Linked DNA regions of Homo sapiens: regions 2 and 3 are each linked to region 1. Evidence: promoter capture Hi-C in 16 types of primary human blood cells and fetal thymus (Javierre and others, 2016). All regions are on one chromosome and are shown on one strand. The core of a region is centred on a gene start or on the middle of the fragment in contact, and the rest is flanking DNA. Distances in the headings are between cores, read along the strand shown.

Region 1 (3,318 bases), core at 303-2,802:
TTCAAGCAGTTTTCTGCCTCTGCCTCCTGAGTGGCTGGGACTACAGGCGCACGCCACCAGACCCGTCTAATTTTTTGTATTTTAGTAGAGATGGGGGTTTCACCATGTTGGCCAGGATGGTGACCCCGTGATCCGCCCTGACCCCGTGATCCGCCCGCCTCGGCCTTCCAAAGTGCTGGGATTACAGGCGTGAACCACCGCGCCCGGCCCATGATCCTTTTAAACGACAAATCTCATACTACTTGCCTAGTTAGAATGTTTCTAACTTTTTAAACGACAAATCTCATACTACTTGCCTAGTTAGAATGTTTCTATCCTTTTAATTTCCTTTGTTATAGGCCTTTCAAGGACCTAATCTAAATTCTTTTCAAAGCCTGCATAATTCGTGTTGTATCACGATTTACTTAGGCAGGACTGAGTCTTTAATTTCTTTTTTTCTTTCTTTTTTTTTTTTTTTGAGATGGAGTCTCACCCTGTCGCCAGGCTAGAGTGCAGTGGCGTAATTTCGGCTCACTGCAACCTCCGCCTCCCGGGTTCAAGCAATTCTCTGCCTCTGCCTACCGAGTAGCTAGGACTACAGGCGTGCGCCACCAGGCCCAGCTAATTTTTTGTATTTTAGTAGAGACGGGGTTTCACCATGTTGGCCAGGATGGTCTAGATCTCCTGACCCCGTGATCCGCCCGCCTCGGCCTCCCAAAGTGCTGGGATTACAGGCGTGAGCCACTGCGCCCGGCCCATGATCTTTTTAAACTACAAATCTCATACTACTTGCCTAATTAGAATGTTTCTATCCTTTTAATTTCCTTTGTTATTGGCCTTTCAATGACCTAATCTAAATTATTTTCAAAGCCTGCATAATTCGTATTGTATCACGATTTACTTAGGCAGGACGGAGTCTTTAATTTCTTTCTTTTTTTTTTTTGAGATGGAGTCTCGCCCTGTCGCCAGGCTAGGCTAGAGTGCAGTGGCACAATCTCCGCTCACTGCAACCTCTGCCTCCCGGGCTCAAACAATTCTCCTGCCTCAGCCTCCCAAGTAGCTGGGACTACGGGTGCGCCACCACGCCCGGCTAATTTTTGTATTTTTAGTAAAGACGGGGTTTCACCATGTTGGCCAGGATGGTCTCGATCTCTTGACCTCGTGATCCGCCCACCTCGGCCTCCCAAAGTACTGGGATTAAGGTGTGAGCCACCGCGCCCCGCTTATTTTTTTTTTTTTTTTGCCGAGACTTTGATTTCAGTTTCTCAGCCCTCAACCAGCACTTCGCCTTGTACTTAGCATGCACTCAATAAATGGTTGCTTAAAATATGAATGAACTAAAGAATCGCGGAACAGAGAGAAACACAGAGGGGAATCGGTCTGGGAGTTTCAAAGTTCGGGAGGGGACACGGGGGCGGGCTGTGGCTGTCACGTGACGGGGCGGGGGCAAATCCCATGTGCTCGGCGGCGCAGATCGCCCGGCGCGGCTCCGCCCCCTGCGCCGGTCACGTGGGGGCGCCGGCTGCGCCTGCGGAGAAGCGGTGGCCGCCGAGCGGGATCTGTGCGGGGAGCCGGAAATGGTTGTGGACTACGTCTGTGCGGCTGCGTGGGGCTCGGCCGCGCGGACTGAAGGAGACTGAAGGTAAAGCCGCCATGTCCGGGCCCGACCCGGCCCCCCCACCCCCTCCCCCCGCATCCGCCGCCATCCGGGCCGGGACCGGCCACCCTGCGCCGCCGCCCCGGCGCCCTGGCCCCGCGGCCCGACCCAGGGCCCCGGCCCGCCAGGGTCCCGATCCCCGGCCCACGTGTGCCTGGCCCGGCCGGGCCTGGCTGCTGGGTGGGGGTGGGGAGCGCAGGGCCGGACTATGCGGGCCCCGCGGGCTGGTAGGGCGCCGGGTTCGTCGCCGCGAAATGCCACCTCGGCCTGACCCGAGGAGGCCCGGCAGCCCACGGGCGCAGGCACCACGGCTCCCGGCCCGCCGCCCCCTCCCCCCTTCGCGGCCAGGCCGCCGGGAAGTGACACGTTGTTCTTTGGCACTGGCCCGCGCTGCGCAGGGAGGGCGCAGGGGAGGGAGGCGGTGGCGGCGGGCAGGGAGGAGCCCCCGGCCCCGCCCGCCCTCCGGGCCGACCCTCACTTGCCTGAAACCGGCTCCTCGACGGCCGCCGCCCGCCTGGCCTTTTAGGGCCTGACTCCCGCCCTTCCTGGCCTACACTCCTGGGCGGCGGCAGGCCTAGCTTCTGGCCCAGTGCGGGTTCCCCGGCGGCAGGCGTATCCTGTGTGCCCCTGGGCCAGGCCCGAACCCGGTGTCCCCGGGTGGGGGGTGGGGACGCCACGGCCGAAGCAGCTAGCTCCGTTCGTGATCCGGGAGCCTGGTGCCAGCGAGACCTGGAATTTCCGGTCTGGTTGGTCTGGGGCCCCGCGGAGCCAGGTTGATACCCTCACCTCCCAACCCCAGGCCCTCGGATGCCCAGAACCTGTAGGCCGCACCGTGGACTTGTTCTTAATCGAGGGGGTGAGTGAGGGGTCTGTTTCAGTAGGTCAGGGGTTGGTTGGAAGTGATGCGGGTTTGACAGCATGTTGGTGGGGACAGGCTGTATCTTTTCTGCTTCACCCTCTTGGCATCTCTGGGACTCCGTATGGGACCCAGCCCTTGCATCAACCCTTTCACCGCCCCATTTGCCTTAAGCTTGGGTCCCTTCCTCTTCCTGAGCGCCACTCTTTCCCAACAGGTGCTGGGGGGACCCTGATGTGGCACCAAATGAAATGAACAAAGCTCCACAGTCCACAGGCCCCCCACCCGCCCCATCCCCCGGACTCCCACAGGTAATTAGGGAGGAATTAGCAGGGGTGGGGGTGGGGGAGACCAGGCAGTCTCCAGCCTCTGGATCTTCCTACCCCCATCTGTGTCAGGGCAAAGTGCAGCCGCCTGCTGCCAAATTGAGACAGGGCCCCTGGGCTGTCCCCGGGGGCTGTCACGGGGAGGGGGTATGTGGATTGTTAAGGCTCTTGCCGCAGATCTGCTCCCCTTATTTCACCAGCTTGGGTTTCTGCCCCACCTGGGCTTCCCCTCTTGCTGAACTCTGGTCTCCCCTCTTCAGCCAGCGTTTCCCCCGGGGCAGACAGCGCCGGTGGTGTTCAGTACGCCACAAGCGACACAAATGAACACGCCTTCTCAGCCCCGCCAGGTGAGGGGCTGTGGGGAGGGGAGTAGGGGACCTGGGTGGGAGCAGTGGAAAGCTTTGGCCAGTTTAGGTCTAGGATGGAAACTGGAGGCCCCATACCTGGCCTTAATCCTCTGTGTTCTTTCATGCGGCTCTGCGCCTTGCCCTGTTGATTAC
Region 2 (3,318 bases), core at 571-3,070, 410 kb before region 1:
CCAAGGACAGAATGACAGTGTAAAACATCTCCATTGAACACATTGGTTCACTTACCTAGAGTGGCATTTTCGTATAAATACAAACAGCAGGGCATATGGTAGGAAAAGAAAACACTTTAGAGTCAGAGGGACATGCATTTGAAACTCAGCTAAGTCACTTACTAGCTGTGTTTGGGCAGTTTCTTAAGCTGCCTATGCTGAAGTTTCTCTATCTATGGAAAAGAAACAGCAACAAAGCGTCCGAAGGATAGGGCTTCTGTGAAGAAAAAAATCTGTGGAGGAAGGAACCTCAAGTCTGGGCAAATTAATAATAAGTTAATAATGGGGCTGGGCATGGCGGCTTATGCCTGTAATCCCAGCACTTTGAGAGGCAGAGGCAGGAGTTCAAGACCAGCCTGGCCAACCTGGTGAAACCCCGTCTTTACTACAAATTAAAAAAAAAATAAAAATAATAAAAATTAGCTGGACGTGGTGGCACGTGCCTGTAATACCAGCTACTTGGGAGGATGAGGTGGGAGAATTGCTTGAGCCCCGGAGGTGGAGGCTGCAGTGAGCTGAGATCACACCACTGTACTCCAGGGCAGTACTCGGGGCAGAGCCAAAGCTCCTTTCCGAGGAAAGTCTCAGGGCTCCCGCCACCACCTCTATGTACAGAGGCATCACCCTGCACCAGGGCACCAAGATGAGTCGCTCTGTTTCATTTTCATTAAAATGGCAACCTCACCACCTACACATGTTGGTATGTTACCTGTTGCGGGAAGTCAGGGACCCCGAACGGAGGGACTGGCTGAAGCCATGGCAGAAGAACCTGGATTGTGAAGATTTCACGGACATTTATTAGTTCCCCAAATTAATACTTTTATAATTTCTTATGCCTGTCTTTACTGCAATCTCTAAACATAAATTGTAAAGATTTCATGGACACTTATCACTTCCCCAGTCAATACCCTTGTGATTTCCTATGCCTGTCTTTACTTTAATCTCTTAATCCTGTCAGCTGAGGAGGATGTATGTTGCCTCAGAACCTTGTGATAATTGCATTAACTGCACAAATTGTAGAGCATGTCTGTTTAAATGATATGAAATCTGGGCACCTTGAAAAAAGAACAGGATAACAGCAATTGTTCAGGGAATACGAGAGATAACCTTAAACTCTGACCACCGATGAGCCGGGTGGAACAGAGCCATATTTCTCTTCTTTCAAAAGCAAATGGGAGAAATATCACTGAATTCTTTTTCTCAGCAAGGAAGATCCCTGGGAAAGAGAATACGCGCCTGGGGGTATAGGCCTATAAACGGCCCCCCTAGGTGTGCCTGTCTCTTATGGTCGAGGCTATAGGGGTGAAATAGACCCCAGTCTCCCATAGCACTCCCAGGCTTATTAGGAAGAGGAAATTCCCGCCTAATAAATTTTTGGTCAGACCAGTTGCTCTCAAAACCCTGTCTCCTGATAAGATGTTATCAATGACCATGGTGCCCGAAACTTCATTAGCAATTTTAATTTTGCCCCAGTCCTGTGGTCCTGTGATCTTGCCCTGCCTCCACTTGCCTTGTGATATTCCATTACCTTGTAAAGTACTTGATGTCTGTGACCCACACCTATTTGCACATTCCCTCCCCTTTTGAAAATCCCTAATAAAAACTTGCTGGTTTTTGCGGCTTGTGGGGCATCACGGAACCCACCGACACGTGATGTCTCCCCCAGACGCCCAGCTTTAAAATTTCTCTCTTTTGTACTCGTCCCTTTATTTCTCAAGCTGGCCGACGCTTAGGAAAAACAGAAAAGAACCTACGTGACTATCGGGACAGATTCCCCGATAGTTACCCCAGTTAGCCTTGACTCCCAGGATACACACCTTTGTGTAATCCCCTCCCCTTGAGGATAGGATGGATTTAGTAACTCACTTCTAACAAATAGAAAATGGGCCAGACGCAGTGGCTCATGCATGGAATCCCAGCACTCTGGAAGGCCAAGGTGGGAGGATCACTTGAGCCCAGGAATTTGAGACCAACCTAGGCAACATGGTGAAACCCCATCTCTACCAAAAATTTAAAAATTAGCCCATTGTGGTGGCACAATGTGGTGCCTGTAGTTCCAGCTACTCAGGCAGCTGAGGTGGGAGGATCACCCAAGCCTGGGAGGTTGAGGCTGCAGTGAGCTATTATTGTGTCCCTTCACTCCAACCCAGGCAACAGAGGGAGACACTGTCTCAAACCAACAACAACAACAACAACAAACCCAACAAATAGAATATGGCAAAAGCGGCCGGGTGCGGTGGCTCACACCCGTAATCCCAGCACCTTGGTAGGCTGAGGCAGGCCAATCACTCGAGGTCAGGAGTTCAAGACCAGCCTGGCCAACATGGTAAACTCCATCTCTACTAAAATATACAAAAATTAGCCAGGCATGGTGGCACATGCCTGTAATCACAGCTACTCGGGAGGCTGAGGCAGGAGAATTGCTTGAGCCCAGGAGGCAGAGGCTGCACTGAGCTGAGATTGCACCACTGCACTCCAGCCTGGGGTGACAGAGCGAGATTCTGTCTCAAAAAAAAAGAATATGGCAAAAGCAATGGGATATCACATCTAAGATTAGGTTACAAAAAGACCATTGCTTCTATTTTGGGTGCCCTCTTGCTTGCTCTCTCTGATGGGGTTCAGCTGCCATGTTTTGAGCTACCCTATGCAGAGGCCCATGTGTCAAGGAACTGAAGGTCTCCAGCCAACAGTTCATGAGCAACCGGGTCCTGAAGACCTCCATGTAAGTGAGCTTGAAGTGGAGCCTCCCCTAGGGGAGTCTTCAGGTGACACTGTAGCCCCAACAACAACTTGATGGTAACCTCATGAGAGACCTTGAGTCAGAGGCATCCAGCTGAGCCACACCCATTTTCCTAACCCTCAGAAACTGTGAAATGATAAATGCTGTTGTTCTAAGCCACTAAGTTTTGGGGTAATTTGTTACACAGTAAGATAGGTAAGTAATTCAACATCTGTCATCTAGGATCTGCAAGGCTCCGTCAACAATACAGAGCACCATTGTACCGAATGACACCGTGGGCACAAAGCCCTCAGCACACAGCAAGCCTGGGCAAAGAGCAGGTGTCCTCATGTTATTGTCCAGCTCACGTCAAAAATCTGCTCGGAAAGCTATCTCAAGCTGGATCACCAGAGAGCTATCATCTTCAACTATGCTCGAGACCAACCTGGGCAACATGGTGAAACTGCATCTCTGCAAAAAAACAAAGCAACAACAACAACAAAAACAACGAAAATTAGCCAGGCATGGGGGCTCATGCCTGTAGTCCTAGCTACTCGGGA
Region 3 (3,318 bases), core at 489-2,988, 320 kb before region 1:
CCTTATATATTCTGGATTAAAGTTCTTTGTCATATGATTTGCAAATATTTTCTCCCATTTTATGGCCATGTTTCATCCTCCTAATTAGGGCCATTCATGCAGCAAAAGTTTGTAATTTTGAAGTCTAATTTACCAATTTTTTTCTTTTACAATTGTGCTTTTAGTGTCATGCCTAAGAACTCTTCTTCCAACCCCCAGGTCATGAAGATTTTCTCCTATGTGCTCTCTTAAAAGCTTTATAGTTTTACATTTTATATTTAAATCTATGGTTCATTTTGAGTTAATTTTTGTATAAAGTGTAAGGTTTCGGCAAAGGTTCACTTTTTTGCCTACAGATGTCCGGTTGTTCCAGTACCATGTGTTGAAAAGATTACCATTTCTCCAGTGAGGTGTGCTGCACTTATGTCGAAAAGTTGGCCATGCCTGTGTGAGTCTATTTCTAGACTCTATTTCATTGATCTATTTGTCTACCCCTACATTGATACTACTGACTTGATTACTGTAGCTACAAACTAAGTCTTAAAATTGGATAGTGTGATGCCTTCAACTTTATCCTTCCTTTTCAAAATTGTTTTAGCTATTCTAGTTCTTTTGCTTTTCCAGGTGAACCAAGTTCAAGAGTTAGAAGGGGTTTTCTTGTTGTTGTTTTTTTTTAAGACAGAGTCTCACTCTGTCGCCCAGGCTGGAGTGCAGTGGTGCGACCTAAGCTCACTGCAAGCTCCGCCTCCCGGGTTCACTCCATTCTCCTGCCTCAGCCTCCCGAGTAGCTGGGATTACAGGCACCCGCCACCACGCCCGGCTAATTTTTTGTATTTTTAGTAGAGATGGGGTTTCACCGTGTTGGCCAGGCTGGTCTCGATCTCCTGACCTCATGATCCGCCTGCCTCGGCCTCCCAAAGTGTTGGGATTACAGGTGTAAGCCACCGTGTCCGGCCAGAAGGGTTCTATAAACATCTTTGATGTTTGAGAAGCATCAGAAGAGGAAAACTTGGCAAGCAATCCATCAGTATGTTTACATGAGCATGGCATATTAGCATTAATAGGAAACCAGAATCTTCACAGCTTTCATCCATTCTTTCCACAAATAACTTACCGAGTGCCTCCGATCTGTAAGACTATTCCAGATGGTGGGAACCAAAAAAATGCCAGTTCCTATGTGTATAACACACTGATTTCATTTTCTTCATTTCTAAAATGCCTAGTGACAGTTTTCACTAAAACCTATTCATAGAAAACTAAATGGACTTAATATTTTTAAAATCCTCTGATTGCATGGTTTTTGTTCTTTTTACTATATATAACTATGTCATGTTTCACCACCTCCTAGGTAGTAAGTTACTTCCTATATTGGAAAACATCAAAATCAAAGGCTCTTTTTAAAAAGATTCAAATGAAAGCTGCCAGGCAAGTCTTCATTCCCCAGGTTTCTCGTGAGTACTGCAGTGGCACTACTGATGGCAGAGACTCAGGGCTCTCCTGCTGCCTTTGGTTTTAGAACAGGCACTCAGTGCAATTTTATCCTAACAAACCCCCATAAAAGTGGTTGAAATAGCACTAATCTCAGAATTCTCATGTAACAAAGCATGGAGTAGAAATTCTCACAGTAAGAGGATGGAAAAGTCTATATTGTTGATCAAAAAGAATCAAACCTTGCTACTCTAAGCAACGAACTTTCCAAGTCACATCCTGTCCCTGTTATTCTTTCCTAAACGTTTTCCCAAATTGTCAATCTTGTTGTCATATCTTTACACATTGCCCAAGTCAGGAAAATGAAATATCTGATGGAAATACAGGATATGATACAGGATCTTCTCCTTTGAAGGAACCACTGTCCTACTCCATATTTGCACCTACCTCCTTCAGAGACAGGTCTCTCAAAACAATAAGCAACAGATATTCAGCTGTTGGCAAGAACTTTCAAATGTTAACATGAAAAATAAATAAATAAAAAATAAAAACAAGAGAAAATAATTCTCTTACTCCAACAAAACTATTTTTTCTTATGGCCTTAAAGTATGAAGATCTCCACAGGCAGAATTTTCCCACAGCTGGAAGCCATAGTAAATACAGTGATTTCAAACATGAATTTTAGAAGATAGATACAGATTTAAGTTTCAGTTTACTCATTTTTACAATGATACATGCATCTACCACATAGGGATGAGAGGAATTAATGGGATAATTAAAAGTGCTTAGCAAAATATTGGGTATATAATAAACATTCAATACATGTTAGCTATATTATCCCAATTTACTTAGCCAATAAATCTTAGGGTCTGTCTCAACGATTTCTTCTTTCCTTTAGTTTTCCCTGACTCTTTCAAGGTCGGGGAACTTACTTCCTTCCTCCTATGTCTTCCCTGTACCTATACCACCACAGCCCAATGCTTCTGGTAAGAGCTCCTAGAGGGCAAGCTGTCTTCCTCTTGTTTATATCCCTGGCCTCTGGCATAGTAGAGAGTTTGGCACCCAGTATTCAAACGTCAATGAAAACACCTTCAAAATACCTTCTTTCCCTTACATTCTACATATCATCAATTAATGCTACATGATATACCACTGAGGCGATCTTACCCATTCCACTTCTGTTTAGATTCTCTAGCTGTTTTGCTTATTATTATTTTTGTCTGAGACAGGATTTTGCTCTGTCACCCAGGCTGGAATGCAGTGGCACAATCATAGCTCACTGCAGCTTTGACCTCCCTGGCTCAAGCAATCTCCCACCTCAGCCTCCAGAGTAGCTGGGACTACAGGCATGCACTACCACCATGTCTGGCTAATTTTTTTATTTTTTGTAGAGACGGGTTCTTACTATGTTGCCAAGGCTGGTCTTGAGCTCCTGGGCTCAAGCAATCAATCCTCCATTCTTGGCTTCGGAAAGTGCTGGGATTACAGGTATGAGTCTCCACACCCAGCTTTTGCTTATTATTAATAGTATAATATACAATTATAGTTTTATTTTTCTCCTTCTAGATTATTTAGGATAAATTCTATCCCTGGGGTTACAGGATTAAAAAAATGTAGCTCCTAGCAATTAGACTTCTACCCAGTTTGCCCCAATTAACTTTATTACAGGATATGTGCTCCAGTATTATTGCAAAAGAGAATTGCTATTAACTTTAGTACTTTCACTTCTATTTTGTGGACCTCAGGTTGTCTTGACATTAGCAAGAAATAAAGGAAGCTATAGCAATCTTCCTTGTGTACAGCCAAATCTCACGACTAGTATGCATTTATAAAGGCAAGCTTTTCACTTAAAGGTAATTAAGAAAATTTATACAAATTTATAACAAACCAACATAGCATGTACTATGTGCC

What was found. Contacts are between HindIII fragments. The CHiCAGO score rates a contact against its expected background, and 5 or more counts as called.
Region 2: a fragment that was not itself captured here is called in contact with the fragment with the promoter of EIF4G1 in region 1 in 9 of 17 cell types (M2 macrophages, M0 macrophages, M1 macrophages and 6 more); the score reaches 10.2 in M2 macrophages.
Region 3: a fragment that was not itself captured here is called in contact with the fragment with the promoter of EIF4G1 in region 1 in 1 of 17 cell types (M2 macrophages); the score reaches 6.3 in M2 macrophages.

Annotation. Positions count from the first base shown.
Region 1 is chr3:184,313,054-184,316,371 of GRCh38, forward strand. It overlaps EIF4G1 (eukaryotic translation initiation factor 4 gamma 1), which reads left to right and starts at 1,553. Exons shown (of 33, transcript NM_198241.3): 1 at 1,553-1,621; 2 at 2,436-2,492; 3 at 2,710-2,803; 4 at 3,079-3,165. The coding sequence starts at 2,744. RefSeq lists enhancers at 976-1,476, 2,201-2,822 and silencers at 1,304-1,633, 1,654-2,363. The HindIII fragment of the contact is 4,143 bases long and covers 1-2,664 here.
Region 2 is chr3:183,898,667-183,901,984 of GRCh38, forward strand. It overlaps the pseudogene CYP2AB1P. Among named protein-coding and RNA genes, the nearest start is that of MIR4448, 14 kb to the left of the region's middle. The HindIII fragment of the contact is 4,315 bases long and covers 1-3,318 here.
Region 3 is chr3:183,995,172-183,998,489 of GRCh38, forward strand. All of the region lies in intron 2 of ABCC5 (ATP binding cassette subfamily C member 5), which reads right to left. Among named protein-coding and RNA genes, the nearest start is that of ABCC5-AS1, 9.5 kb to the right of the region's middle. The HindIII fragment of the contact is 3,012 bases long and covers 233-3,244 here.